5 separate regions of the Homo sapiens genome follow, and regions 1, 2, 3 and 4 are each linked to region 5. The links are contacts of gene promoters, found by promoter capture Hi-C in blood cells and fetal thymus (Javierre and others, 2016). All regions are on one chromosome and are shown on one strand. The core of a region is centred on a gene start or on the middle of the fragment in contact, and the rest is flanking DNA. Distances in the headings are between cores, read along the strand shown. Region 1 overlaps MYH10 (myosin heavy chain 10). Region 2 holds the start of PIK3R5 (phosphoinositide-3-kinase regulatory subunit 5). Region 3 overlaps MYH10 (myosin heavy chain 10). Region 4 overlaps MYH10 (myosin heavy chain 10). Region 5 holds the start of SPDYE4 (speedy/RINGO cell cycle regulator family member E4).

What was found. Contacts are between HindIII fragments. The CHiCAGO score rates a contact against its expected background, and 5 or more counts as called.
Region 1: a fragment that was not itself captured here is called in contact with the fragment with the promoter of SPDYE4 in region 5 in 1 of 17 cell types (megakaryocytes); the score reaches 7.1 in megakaryocytes.
Region 2: a contact is called between the fragment with the promoter of PIK3R5 here and the fragment with the promoter of SPDYE4 in region 5, in 14 of 17 cell types (naive CD8 T cells, naive B cells, total CD4 T cells and 11 more). The highest score is 14.4, in naive CD8 T cells.
Region 3: a contact is called between a fragment that was not itself captured here and the fragment with the promoter of SPDYE4 in region 5, in 1 of 17 cell types (megakaryocytes). The highest score is 5.1, in megakaryocytes.
Region 4: a fragment that was not itself captured here is called in contact with the fragment with the promoter of SPDYE4 in region 5 in 3 of 17 cell types (megakaryocytes, erythroblasts and endothelial precursors); the score reaches 14.8 in megakaryocytes.

The regions. Positions count from the first base shown.
Region 1 is chr17:8,598,806-8,601,505 of GRCh38, forward strand. All of the region lies in intron 3 of MYH10 (myosin heavy chain 10), which reads right to left. Among named protein-coding and RNA genes, the nearest start is that of MYH10, 31 kb to the right of the region's middle. The HindIII fragment of the contact is 1,589 bases long and covers 497-2,085 here.
Region 2 is chr17:8,964,344-8,967,043 of GRCh38, forward strand. It overlaps PIK3R5 (phosphoinositide-3-kinase regulatory subunit 5), which reads right to left and starts at 1,364. Exons shown (of 19, transcript NM_001142633.3): 1 at 1,253-1,364. PIK3R5-DT (PIK3R5 divergent transcript) reads left to right here and starts at 1,504. Exons shown (of 3, transcript NR_184080.1): 1 at 1,504-1,660; 2 at 2,424-2,700. RefSeq lists silencers at 1,288-1,607, 1,678-1,777. The HindIII fragment of the contact is 6,543 bases long and covers 1-2,700 here.
Region 3 is chr17:8,517,374-8,520,073 of GRCh38, forward strand. MYH10 (myosin heavy chain 10) reads right to left here. Exons shown (of 43, transcript NM_001256012.3): 20 at 1,508-1,577; 21 at 1,258-1,418. Among named protein-coding and RNA genes, the nearest start is that of NDEL1, 83 kb to the left of the region's middle. The HindIII fragment of the contact is 1,775 bases long and covers 540-2,314 here.
Region 4 is chr17:8,536,282-8,538,981 of GRCh38, forward strand. The region is part of intron 14 of MYH10 (myosin heavy chain 10); the gene reads right to left. Among named protein-coding and RNA genes, the nearest start is that of MYH10, 93 kb to the right of the region's middle. The HindIII fragment of the contact is 591 bases long and covers 1,011-1,601 here.
Region 5 is chr17:8,757,281-8,759,980 of GRCh38, forward strand. It overlaps SPDYE4 (speedy/RINGO cell cycle regulator family member E4), which reads right to left and starts at 1,266. Exons shown (of 7, transcript NM_001394956.1): 1 at 994-1,266; 2 at 1-212. The coding sequence starts at 1,102. The HindIII fragment of the contact is 1,936 bases long and covers 1-1,726 here.

The DNA of each region.
Region 1 (2,700 bases), core at 41-2,540, 160 kb before region 5:
AAGCAATCTTCCCACCTCAGCCTCCTGAGTAGCTAGGACTATAGAAGCATGCCACCACATCTGGCTAATTTTTTTATTTTTCGTAGAGCTGGGGGTTCACCATGTTGCCCAGGCTGGTCTTGAACTCCTGAGCTCAAGTGATCTGCCCACCTTGGCCTCCCAAAGTCCTGAGATTACAGGCGTGAGCCATGGTGCCCAGCCTGTTGTAGTGATTTCTAAAGAATCTGTAAGTTTTGATTTCCTCTTTTACCAAAAGCCACATAGATGAGTGATTAATAACAAAACATTCATACTCATTAAACACACTCCCACAAACACTAACCCATTTGGAAATCTTTTTATTGCTAATATCTTGTCTTATTGCACTGTGGTCAGAGAATGTAGCCTGTGATTTCTTCTTTCAGGAACTGAGATTTTTATTGGTGGCCTGCTATATGGAATAGACACCACATTTGTAAATGTGCTTTCTGCTTGCATACATACATTTTTCAATATAAGCTTGCTAAGTTGTATTAAATCACATTCTTTAATATTCTTTTTTTCCCTACTTAATATGTCAAATTCTGAGAGAAGCATATTAAAACTCCCTCTATAACTGTGGTTCACATTCTCCTTACATTTCCAATAGCAACTGTTTTAAATATTTGATGCAATGTCAGTGATGTACATGTAAGTATTATCTGTCTCTCCTAGATGACTACATCACACTATTTCTATCTTAAACCACCAATCTCTCCTCCCTCCTCCTCACTCTCAGCTGAAACCCTGCTTCATTTTCACAAGCTCCTGCCAGCAACCATATCTGCCTACCCATCTGCAACACTGTTTTGAAAAATCTGGCTGTAAAAGGAAGGTGGAAGGAACTAACTTTCTTATTTAAAGTAACGGGTAAAACTTTAGCTAATAGGGAAAATTTATTGCTAATGTTAGGAGCCTATAAAAAGAGAAGCAGAAGATACAGTCACAACCCAGAATAATCAACACCATGAGATTCTTAAGAAGGTTAAGAGGATGTGATCAGCATCAGAGGTGAAGGACTAGGTAAGACCAGCCTTTGACAGGAGTAGACACAAGAGATAATGATCTGTTCATCTAGCTGGGGCAGTTTCTCTGCAGTGCCTCTGTGGAATGGGAAACAAGCCATCAGCCAGGGAGTAGAGGGGCAAGGAGGGACCCAGAGATCTGGAGCCTGCAGAGGTTTGAAATAGTCATTATGGAGAGTGGGAGGACCAAGGTAGGATTAGCAAGAGTTGAGTGTAGAATCAGGGCTCACGGTCAGGAAATTACAGTGGTATTTATCTGTTCCATTATGTGAGCATAACTCCAGAAGCATCAGCAACCCAAGTAACAGCATTAAAAGAGACAAATATCTTGATTCATCCAGCGTGAGTTTTACCAAACAAGAATAACCAATGAACAACGGGACAAGGGAGGGGTTTAGGAAATGGGTAGAAGATGGCCATGAAATCTAAATTATACAAGGCAGAAAGTGAAGGGTGTTGTTAACATATAGGGGGAAAGTAAAACAAGTAATGGGCTGGGGATCCACATGAAGTCAAAGAACACATTTAGGAGATTGGACTCTCTTCTCCTAAGAAGTCCAATCTTCTTGATTGGACTACCAATATGGAAGGATGCTGCATTAGAACTACTGAAACATTATCTGAAAAGTCAGTTAATTCTAAAAGATGGCAAAGTCTAGAGCATCACCATAGATGTTGGTGGCATAAGTGAGAGACGGAGGAATTCATATGAAGGACCTTACGATCAAGGGACTTGACTGTTCATTAAAAACTATGAAGTAACACAGGGCAATGGCAAGGCTTGAGGCAGAGAGGAAACAACGTGCTGGGGCCCATCATGGAGTGAGAGAGGAACCAAGAAGAAAGCTGCTGAAAGTAATGAGTGGTGATGGAGGTGCGGCTTTTCCAAGGCAGTAAAGGAGTAATGGTTTAGCAGACACATAGACACAGTGTTAGTAAGGACACTAACCCTATCTCCCAGTGCATAGGATTTGAGTGATGGAGCACTCTTCACTAAATGGACTCATACCCCGTATGTGGGGGAAAGCCAAGTCTCGGTTAAAGCTTGAAGGAAAAGAAAATATTCACTGAAGATACTAAACATACAGAAAGTTTGCACATCAGAGAGTGGGAGTTACCTAAGGCAAAAATGAAAAGGGAGTATTATGGAAATGAAAACATGACTGGAAACACAGTGAATTTCATTCCAGGATTCCATGAAGATGGTGGACTCTCATGTCTTAAATTTTCATTGTGGCCTAAAAAAGTGGCCCCTGCAGGTATTGTTACAGCAAGCAAAACTTTCCTTTCCATCTACCCAGGTCAACCGGGGTTGGTAGCAGTGTTGGTTGCCTGCTGCTGAATGGAAGCTACCTGGGGTGGAACTGGGCTGGTGAGGCATCAGGAACAAAGGAAGACAAGCCACAAGGTGGTGAGCCTCACTGTGGGTACTCCTAGGTGACCTCAGATGATTATGTGCAAGGTAGAGGCCTCGGTGTTCCTAAATTCAGTTCCTAACACACAGTGTTGCAAATGAGAAGCCCGATGCTACTGACTCCCTTTCCATGTCATGTTGCCCTATCCACCAAGGTATGCAAGATGAAGCGTATCTCCTTTCACTATTTCCACCCAGCACTTTTATCTGAACACCTGAGTGTGTCTTTAGTTCAGGTGACCT
Region 2 (2,700 bases), core at 114-2,613, 210 kb after region 5:
TCACGCCACTGCACTCCAGCCTGAGTGACAGAGCAAGACCCTGTCTCAATAATAATAATAATAATAATTCCACACAGCTCTATGGGTCAGTATGACAGCCCATTTTATGAATCAGGAGACTGAGGCTGGGTTGGGGGACAGTGTGATGCTGCAGGTCACACAGCTGGATCCGGTTGGAACTTGGGTCTCTTTTCCACATCATGCATGGTTCCCAAGCAACGGCTTCAGCATCATCACTTAAGGAGCTCATTCAAAGTTTTGAAAACTACAGATTCCAGATCCCATCCCTGGAAAGCCACGTTGTAGGGTTGGCTCCAAGAGAGCCCTACCTGCAGTCAGCTCTGGGAGCCAGTGCCTTACAGGTGGTCCTGAGGGCAGGAAGGAAAGTGTGGGGTGGATGAGAAGACACAGAAGGAAAACGAGGGTGTCAGTCCAGAGAGGACCTTGGAGGCAGGCTTGGCCTACTTTTAGCCCTTATTCTGCCTAAACCCACCCCTCCTCTCTACTCCGAGTCTTGTTAACTCGCTTTATACCACATCCTGCTGCTTTAACCTCGCCTTCCTTTTCCTTCTGAACAATCTCCTTCCTCCTACTGACCTGAACTTTTTGTGTATTTACCCCAGGCCGGGATGGGCCAGCACGCGCACATGCGCATGCCCACACACACACACACACACACACACACACGAGTCACGCGGGGATGTCCAGTGTGTAAACACAGATCCTCTGAGAGCAGAAAGCGTGCAGTTCTCTAGGACAGCAGCCGCGTCTGGGCCCAAGGCTGGCTAACTAGCAGGCTGAGTGAGGCTCGACGGAGGGCGCCTTACGCGGGCACTTCCATGACTCCCAGGTTCTGACGGCACAAGAGCCCTGATGCCCACGCTCACGGACAGTTCCCCGCTGGAGCGGGCAGGGGACCTGACCCTACGACACAGGGCGTCCTGTGTCAGAGGCAGGAGGCTGAGGACACAGCTGCGCAGAGCCGCCCAGCAGAGGTTACCCGGATAACGATAAGTGGTCCCCGCGACGCCCCTTAAGTCTCTGGGGTTATCTGGAGCGCAGGTTTGCAGACCCGCTGCCCCCGCGGTGGGCCAGGTCCACGGGGCCGGAAGATAGCAGGATCTGTCCAGCCCTCGGGCTGCGGCGGCTGCTCGCGGAGCCCACTCTCCCCGACGGTCCCCAGCTTGCTCCAGCTCTGCCTGGAGCTCCCATGCGTGCCCTCCGCATCCGCCCTGGCCGCCCAGTCACACACCTGCAGTCCCCGCCGGGCGCCGAGCCCCTCTCCAGCGGCGACTCCCTGCGATTCGGGTGACCGTCGGGACCACCGCGCCCCAGCTGGAGCCGCGCGGCGAGCCGCAGCATCTGCCCAGCCTGGGCTCCTCCGGCGGGCGGGGCGGAGCCTGTCAGGGGGCGGGGCCTAATGGGGCGGGGCTGACCGCGGAGCCGGCCTCTCCAGCCACCTGGCGGCCCGGCAGCGTCAGCCAGGTGCGCGCCCGGCCCCACATCCTCTGGGTCACGCCCCCGAGGCCGCAAGGCGTCTGAGAAGCAGCCCCGGCTCTGACCCGCCAGCCCTCGGAAGAAGCAGACCCTGGCCGGTCCATGGCAGTGGCCCGAGGGGCACCAGCGCGGAGCACCAGCGACCCCCAAGGAGTAAGGGGAGGTTAGGCCCCCGCGTCGGAAGCGCGGCTTTGGCCCCGCAGGAGGGCTGGGCGGAGCAGGGGGGCAGGTCTGGGGTAGGGGCTTAGGGGAAAGACGAGAAAGAGGAAGCTCCGACGAGCTGCTTCCTTCTCTCACTGCGACCCACTTCCTCTTCCTACTTCTATTTTCTTTCTTTTTTTTTTTTTTTTTTTTGAGATGGAGTCTCGCTCTGTCGCCAGGCTGGAGTGCAGTGGCACGATCTTGACTCCCCACAACCTCCGCCTCCCGGGTTCAAGCGATTCTCCTGCCTCAGCCTCCCGGGTAGCTGGGACTACAGGCGCGCGCCACCACGCCCAATTTTTTGTATTTTTACTAGAGACGGGGTTTCACCATGTTGGCCAGGATGGTCTCGATCTCTTGACCTCGTGATCCGCCCGCCTCGGCTTCCCAAAGTGCTGGGATTACAGGCGTGAGCCACTGCGCCCGGCCCCTACTTCTATTTTCTTTGGGTGCCCTTAACCCTTAAAATGCCTGCACTACTGCTGTGCAGACGGGCACCTTGACCCGCATCCTTCTGCAGGAACCTTCATAGAAATACCAGCCAGTCCCGGCGTTCAGCACTGCTGTTCCAGCCTCTGGCTGGACTTCCCGCCCTCCCTGGCCGGCACCAAGGCTACTGTCACCTGAGTGGTTTCCCCAGCCCCTGGGGAAGGGAGTGAGGGTGTGCGGGAGTTCCTGCCTCCAGGGTCAAGGCCCTCTTCTTGCCTCCCCCTTTTCTCCCCCAGACGACGTTGCAGATGATGCTCTACCAAGAGTTGGAAGGACTCCCCAGGGAATCCCACAAGACACTGCGCTTCCTATGCCTCCTTTCCCTCGTTTAAAAAATGGGGATAAGAAGGTTGGCTACTGCTCCGACAGCCCTCACAATGGAAGAGTAGCACTTCATTTGTGGGTTAACAAAGGGCAACGCTGAAATCTCCACTTCCACTATTGAATGGAACTGTGTCATAATATCTGTTAGAGGCGTGCAAACTCGGCCACAAGGTCATGGTCATACGTTAT
Region 3 (2,700 bases), core at 177-2,676, 240 kb before region 5:
CCACATGTAGAGTACATTATTACAGAGTGCTGACTTCCAGTCCAGGTGTTCAGATTCTGTTTGCTCAAAACTGTCTGGATGGCAAACTATTCAACCTGTCTCAAATTCTCTCACTCCCAAACCCGAAGTGTTCAGTAGAAAGAAGTAAATACCAGTATTACCTTCTAAATCCAAATCAGTTCTAAGTCCTTTGAATTCTATCTCAAATTTAACAACTTTTCTCTCGTTCTCCACCACCACCTTCTTGGGTCCAGGCACCATCATCTTCTACCCAAATCACTAAGACAGCTTCCCAACTGGCCCTCCCAATTCTATTCTTGGCCAATTCTCAATGGATTCTGCCTACCGCAGCCAGGCGGCCTTGACAGTATAGATTCCCCCTCACTGCACTCCTAACCCCTGTCCAGCGTCTGATTCTCAAGCCTCTTCTCTCACCTTGCTCCCTCTCACCCATCCTGCTCCAGCCACACTGGACTGTGTCACCTTCTCAAATGCTGCCAGACTCTTGCCAGGATGCTGCTGTAGTTCCCTTACTGAAAAGCTTCTCTCTCCTCCCTTCACAGGGCCAGCCTTCTTACCCTTGAGGTTTCAGCCTCAGAGAAGCATTCTCTGAGGACTTGAGCTGAAGCAGGACCCCATACCCCTTGGCCCCGTGTGTGTGTGTGTGTGTGTGTGTGAGAAGCATTCTCTGAGGACTTGAGCTGAGGCAGGACCCCATACCCCTTGGCCCCGTGTGTGTGTGTGTGTGTGTGTGTGTGTGTGTGTGTGTGTGTGTTTGAGATAGGGTCTCACTTTGTCACCCAGGCTGGCATGCAGTGGTACCATCTTGGCTTATTGCAGCCTTGACCTCCTGGGTTCAAGAGATCCTCCCGCCTCAGCTCCCACAGGTAGCTGGGACTACAGGCGCATGCTACCAAGCCTGGCTAATTTTTGTATTTTTAGTAGAGATGGGGTTTTGCCATGAAGCCCTGGCTGGTCTCGAACTCCTGAGCTCAAGTGATCTGCCCACTTCAGCCTCCCAAAGTGCTGGGATTACAGGCCTGAGCCACCACGCCCAGCCTCCTTGTGTGTTTTTGTATTGCAACATCCCATTACTTAGAATGTTCATGTATTTACCTGACTATCTCTGCCACTATAAAGCAACTTCTGTAAGGACAGACTATGTCTCACACACTCTTGCACCCCAGGTCAAAATGCAATGCTTATCTAGCACAAGCACTTCCTCAGTGAACGATTAATTCGTGAATACCCACTCACTTTCTGGCCAGGTAACCTCTGCAAACGGCCTGGAAGAAGATAATGATATCGGTGATTTTTAAATCTCTTTCTTCCTCTAAGTGTGCCAGAACTCCAGCTCTGAAAAATATCTTGCTCTGTCCAATTCTGTACAAGTTTGGGTCCAATTCTAAAGCCCGGATCTAAGAGAGAAAGAGTTTATTTACTTTTTTTAACTACAAGAAAGATTAGATTAAATCTACAAGCCAGAAAAAGATCAAGAAAACCTTACCATTCGTTCACAGGCCTGTTTACCATCCATAAAACCTTTAGGAATAGCATTTGGAGTTAGGATCTCATATCTGTAAGAGAATATTCCAAGAAGTATTTTGTAGAAATTTGTGAACGATGTGTATCTACTAACTGTGTGTTTTGCTCTAAGAGGCAATAAAATGTTGGGTAATACATGTTAAAGATATGATGTAATACATGTTCAAGAAATGAACTGGTGATAATCTGATGTTTTCTGTAGATCTACTTTATTTCTCATAAGTAAAAATGAGGTTAGTTCTTTCAGGTCAAAAAGTAGGTTTAGGAGGTTGTGGCAGAGAAAAATCAAAAGCATGGTGTTTTAGAAACCTTTCATTTTTCTTCATGTCCCATAAAATGTTCATATCCTTAAGACGCAAAAGAGAATCTGGCTTTCTGTACTTTAAGTCACTGTCAATTTGTAGCATTTATTAGATAACAGGAAGGGCTGTAAGAGCTGTGTTCATAGGCTTCTATTCAAAACATCAGAAAATATCAGGGTGACATGTGACATGACGTTGGTCTGGGTGTATACACATACATATGTTCACTGAGCTGCACATTTAAAATCTGTGTACCTCACTGTATACAGTCTATACCTCAATCAGAAAAATAAAAGATACTGGCTATATATTAAAGGAGGAATCCTGGCTACATCAATCAACTTTGTATCTTGGATGCCAATTATACTCCCTTTTTCTCCTAACAATAAAAAATGAAAATCTACCAGACTTCATCATACAATGGGATCAGAATGATGGCTTTCCTCAAGACACACATGGACTGGAAAAGCTTCTCAAGGTGATTCTATCTGGAACAGTGGGAGAAAGGGCACAAAGACCATTCTTTGACCTGGCAGCACCATTTATTTCATGGAACAGCAAATGGTGTCATACTTTCAAATCTGATTTCCAGAAAAAAGAAGAAAAAAAGCAAACTAAAAGTAACTATTCAAGAAAATTACCAAATAAAAGTTAAAAATAACTCTCAACATATGTTTGTATCCATTTCCACTGCAAGTTGATAGATCTTTTCCCTTTTGTTTTTTCTTAATCCTTTTCTATCTACTCCTTTCCCTATGTTAGCTAAAAGACTGTAATTGCACGCATGTGTGTGCACATGTATACACATACATTGGAAAAAATACATACACATACACACACACATACAGATATA
Region 4 (2,700 bases), core at 56-2,555, 220 kb before region 5:
TCAGTGACTGGCTGGAGAAATCATTATAACACCTCAACTAATGAGAATGCTTCAAACATTTTATATCCTAATCAGTTTAAGTTTCTGTTTAAGTAATTTTAAATTAAATGTATCACTTTATATTTGGCGAAATATTTTAAACTATTATTAAGTAGAATATATGGAAATTGATAAACTAAGTCAGTCATCAATTGCCTTATATATTTGTTTTAACAGGCATTTGACAACCCATTTTATGTGATGCAATTATTACTTCATTGAAAAAAAGTAGCACTTTGGGAGGCCGAGGCAGGTGGATCACGAGGTCAGGGGTTTGAGACCAGCCTGGCCAAGATGGTGAAACCCCGCCTCTACTAAAAATACAAAAATTAGCTGGGTGTGGTGGCACATGCCTGTAGTCCCAGCTACTCAGGAGGCTGAGGCAGGAGAATCGGTTGAACCTGGGAGGCAGAGGTTGCAGTGAGCCGAGATGGTGCCATTGCACTCCAGCCTGGGTAACAGAGCAAGACTCTGTCTCAAAAAAAAAAAAAAAGCGCTAGATGAATCCATAGAGACAGAGGGTAGATTAGTGGCAGCCGGGGATTGAAGGAACAGAATGTGGAGTGACCACTAATGGGTATGAGGTTTCTTTCTGGGGTGATGAAAACGTGGCAGGATTTGGTAGTGGTAATGGTTCCACAACTTTGTGAATATACTACAAACATCACTGACTTGTAGTTTTAAAAGGGTGGATTTCATGGTTTGTGAATTATGTCTCAATTTTTAAAAAGGCCTAGAGCTCACCATTGTCTGGAGTGACTTCCTTTTTGGAGGTAAATGACACATGAAAGCTAAATAAGATATTTAAATAGTGATGGTCTATTTTCTAGTGCTTCTGGGCCATCATTTATTGTCACACTGCAAATATGGCAAGTGTGTGATACAAAACTGAACTCGTACCAGTTCTAGGGCACACTCATGAAATCAGCTGTTTGAGTAAGACTCTAAGATCAGTTCTCATCAACTCACAAAGCTTTCATATTTACTGGCAAAGAGTTGGCAATACACACAAATGCTGTTTTTAAAAGTAGCTAGAGGCTATGGTTAAATATAAATGAAACAGTGTAATAAAGTGGTCAGAGAAAGGGATGGGTGATCTGAATGCCAGCGGGTGGAAGCTGAGGGAACCCTTCTGCAATGGAGACCCTTACCCCAGGGCTCCTCCACCTGAAAGAATTGTCAGGGTTTCAGATCAGCTAAAAAGAAGACAGTAATCTGAAGCAACTGGGATTAGGTCACTTTAGAGGAGCTCAGAGTGGCAGGTAACTCAATCCACCCTAATCACACAACAACTGTGAGAAAGGAAGTTCCACATTAATATTAATATAACAAAAACATCCTCCTTTTACCCTTTTACATTCTTAACCACTTTTAATGAGAATTTTCCTAAATTCTGACACAGTATCTCAAATAAAAATTTGTATTTTTTTCTAAATGACTTGGTGACAGCATGATCATGAATATCATTACTGTGTCTCCTTTTCATTTTTTCCACTTCATCCTTCAATGTCAAGATCTCTATTATCATTCCTTCTCTGAACCGGGTATTTCCAAGAGCTGTAAGCTTAGAAGCCTGTGTTTCTGAATATTGGTCATAGGTTTTGTGAAAGCTTGTGAACTCAGAGGCTTGCCTGCCACCAGCCCACAGTCTGGCAAGGCAGGGGCTGGGATTATGCGAGATGAGCTAAGCCTGGCACGGGCCTGTCAGGTGCCACCACAGAGGATGTTTTTACAGCATTTTCCTTCTAGAAAGTATTGTTTTCACTCTCCATTTTGCAAGGAACATCAATGGGATCATTATCCCATGTCATTCCACAGGCTGTCGTTAAATTCCCCATCATCATAAACTCTCATGGGGTTTACAAAATGTTATGTTTTTATTTTTTATTATTATTATTTTTTGAGACGGAGTCTCGCTCTTGTCCCCCAGGCTGGAGTGTGGTCACGCGATCTTGGCTCGCTGCAACCTCCACCTCCCGGCTTCAAGCGATCCTCCTGCTTCAGCCTCCCGAGTAGCTGGGATTACAGACAACCGCCACGACGCCTGGCTAATTTCTTTTTGTATTTTTAGTAGAGATGGAGTTTCACCATGTTGGTCAGGCTGGTCTCGAACTCCTGACCTCAAGTGATCTGCCCGCCTTGGCCTCCCAAAGTGTTGGGATTACAGGCGTGAGCCACTGTGCCTGGCCATGTTTTTATTTTTTAATCAGATATTTCTATGAATAAGTAGAATAATCCTCAAATTGAGGTAAAGAGTGAGTCAGCATTAAATCTTGAATTCCTTCCCTCCCCTTTCTGAGCTATCTCTCCTATAAATTAGGACTATTTAGGCAGGGAATAAAGGGTCCACTCTAAAGGCTGAAGGAAGAGCCTAGAAGTGCCAGTACAAAGAGGATAGGAAGGAAAGAAGGAACGAGTTACCTAGTTCTACTCATTGCCCGTCAGTGTCTGGGCATAACTGGTGACTAGGAACATCATGACTTCCCAGCTCCAATACTTTCTGAATGCCCTGGCTGCTGTGGTTTCAATGTGTTCCCTGAAAGTTCACATGTTGGAAACCTGGTTCCTAATGCAGCCGTGTTGAGAGATAAGACCTTTGGGAGGTAACTGGGTCATGGGGCTCTTTCCTAGTAAATGGATTAATTCATTCATGGATCAATG
Region 5 (2,700 bases), core at 16-2,515:
CTCGTGGTGCTCAGGGAGCACGGAGGATGCTCGCTTTCGCTTCAGCTTCATCTTGAGCCCACACAGCGTCTCCACCACCCAGGTGTCCTCGGGCTCAGGGGCGCGCTCCAACTCCAGCTCCTCCTCCAGCTCCTCCTCGGATTCGTCTGACCATTCGCTCTTCCTTTTCAGGCCAAGGGATTGAGGCTGGGGGCTGGGATCTATCCAAGGGGCTGAGTGAAGAAACCAGGCCATGGTGTCATGTTTCTGCCATTGATCACCTTAGACGCCCCGACCCAGGAACCTCAAACTACTCTTCCATCCTCCCAAGCCTCGCAGACTGTCAGCTTCTCCAAGCCATGTTTCCACCTTTCTCCTTTGCTGATCCCCATCTGCCTCTCCCTCACCTCCCCATTCTTCCGGCTCTCTGTCCTCAAAACATTTCCTCATCACAGATAAGAACTTTCAATTGGAGAAAAATGGAAACCTTCCCTTGAGCTCTGTCTGCTCTCTCTCTCTCTCTCTCTTTTTTTTTTTTTTGAGATGGAGTCTCCCTCTTGTTGCCCAGACCGGAGTGCAGTGGCACAATCTTGGTTCACTGCAACCTCCGCCTCCTGGGTTCAAATGATTCTCCTGCCTCAGCCTCTTGAGTAGCTGGGACTACAGGCACGCACCACCATGCCCAACTCACTTTTGTATTTTTGGTAGAGACAGGGTTTCATCGTGTTAACCAGGATGGTCTCGATCTTCTGACCTCGTGATCCGTCCGCCTCGGCCTTCCTCTCTCATCTTTTGAGCACATCTCCTGACCCCCTTCATTGCTCCCCAGACTTTCTTTACACGTGGCCATGCTTGGCCCCATTCCCTGCACCCTCCTTCCCCGATCCCTGGCTTCCTGAGTCCGTCGTTTCTTTCCCACACACCCTACTCAGGTGCTTCAGATTCCCAGTAACTGGCCCCCTTCCCTCTCCTCAGTCAATCATCTCCCATCGCTTCTCCCTCCAGTCACCTCACCTGATGGTCCTGGCACTTCATCATCCACCACCACCTCGGGGGACCGTACCGTTGTGCTAGGCTGGGGGCTCTCCTCCTCAAACGGGGGGCGCGCTTGACCACTGGCCATAATCTCTCCCAAACACTTTGTTTCTGTCCACAAAACCTAGTCCCTGTTCTGTCCAAAGCCTTCTTCCAGACTCCGTTAGGACCCAGAAGAGTGCGTTTCTCTTCTAGAGGCTCGGGAGAAGTTAGGAGTGAAGAGTAGTTCTGAGAAGTTGCTGTTGTCCACCTGAACTCCCAAGCAACCAGAGTCCGGTCCTTCCAATCAGGAAAGTCGGAATCTCTGATGTCATCGGTCATTCCAAACTGGCAACTACTTTGAAGAAAAACACATGTAACTGCCAGACTGATCTCTTTTCTTGGAGATCCGGGGTGAACGGTATCTCCTGGCAATGTCCCAACCTCTGAGCATTGTCCAAAAGCATCCTCAGGGTCTCCACATTCCTCTTTTCCCTGTCCCAGCAGAGGCTGTGTCCTCTCCACTCTAAACTTGAGGGGGTGTTGGGCTCTCCTCCCCGCTTCTCCTTCCCATTTCAGAGTCTAGTCTGGTGAGAGAGGGAGGAAGGTGGAAGGAAATTTAGGGTAAGCAGAATGATGAGTCCTTCCAAGAGTGAGATTAACATATACAGGAGATCCTGGGTAAATTGACTTGTTGAATGGAGACGTTACGTCGAAGTACTCAATGTGGCAAAGCTTTTTTGCTGAATGTTTACTGATATTCACTATCCTGGATCCTATAGTAGGGGAACATGCATCCTTTGCTCTCAGGCATCTTTGAGTCCAAGAGACATTTTGAGGAATGAAAATCACAGGAGACTGTCCATGGTTTCGTACAGATTTTCAATGGTGTCCACAAGTTCAGGGCATCCATGGATCACCTAAAGCCTGCCCTCCAGTTCAGCTAAGGAACTCTGGTCTATATATCAACTATTACAACATATCTATTTCACTTGACCCCAAAATTTGCCTACTATTTATGTATTTTATGAATAAAATATCCTGTGTATAAAAAGACTAAGGGGAAAATCTCAGCCAGGCCCAGGGGCTCCTGCTCATAATCTCCCTCCTTTGGGAGGCCAAGGCAGGGCGTCACTTGAGGTTAGGAGTTCAAGATTAGTCTGGGCAACATAGCAAAACGTCATCTCTACAAAATATAAACAAAGTAATCAGGAATCGTGGCACACACCTGTGGTCCCAGTACTTGGGAGGCTGAGGCAGGAGGATTGCTTCAGCCCAAGTGTTTGAGGCTGCAGTGAGCTATGATTGCACCACTGCACACCAGCCTGGAGGACAGAGTGAGACTCAGTCTCAAAAATATTTTTTTCGGAAAAAATAAAAATGTAAGAGCTGGATACTATCTCAGATACCATCCAAAGAACCTGTGAGTTCTGGCACAGCTTCCTAATGGGCTCCTAGGAGTCTCTCGCTGATGGGAAAGGCACAACTGAATGAGGAGGCAGATCCCGTCGCTGTGGAAGTCCAATTGTTAGGAAACTCTGCTTACATTGAGTGGACCTTCGCATTCACGATGCTTTCAACCATCAGAACTGGTTGGATCCTTTTACAACAAAACAGAAAATCATCTTTCTCTCCTATTTAATAGGCTTTCAAACATTAGAAGATCAATATTCTGTTGCCATTAAAATTTCTCTTCTGTACCACGTA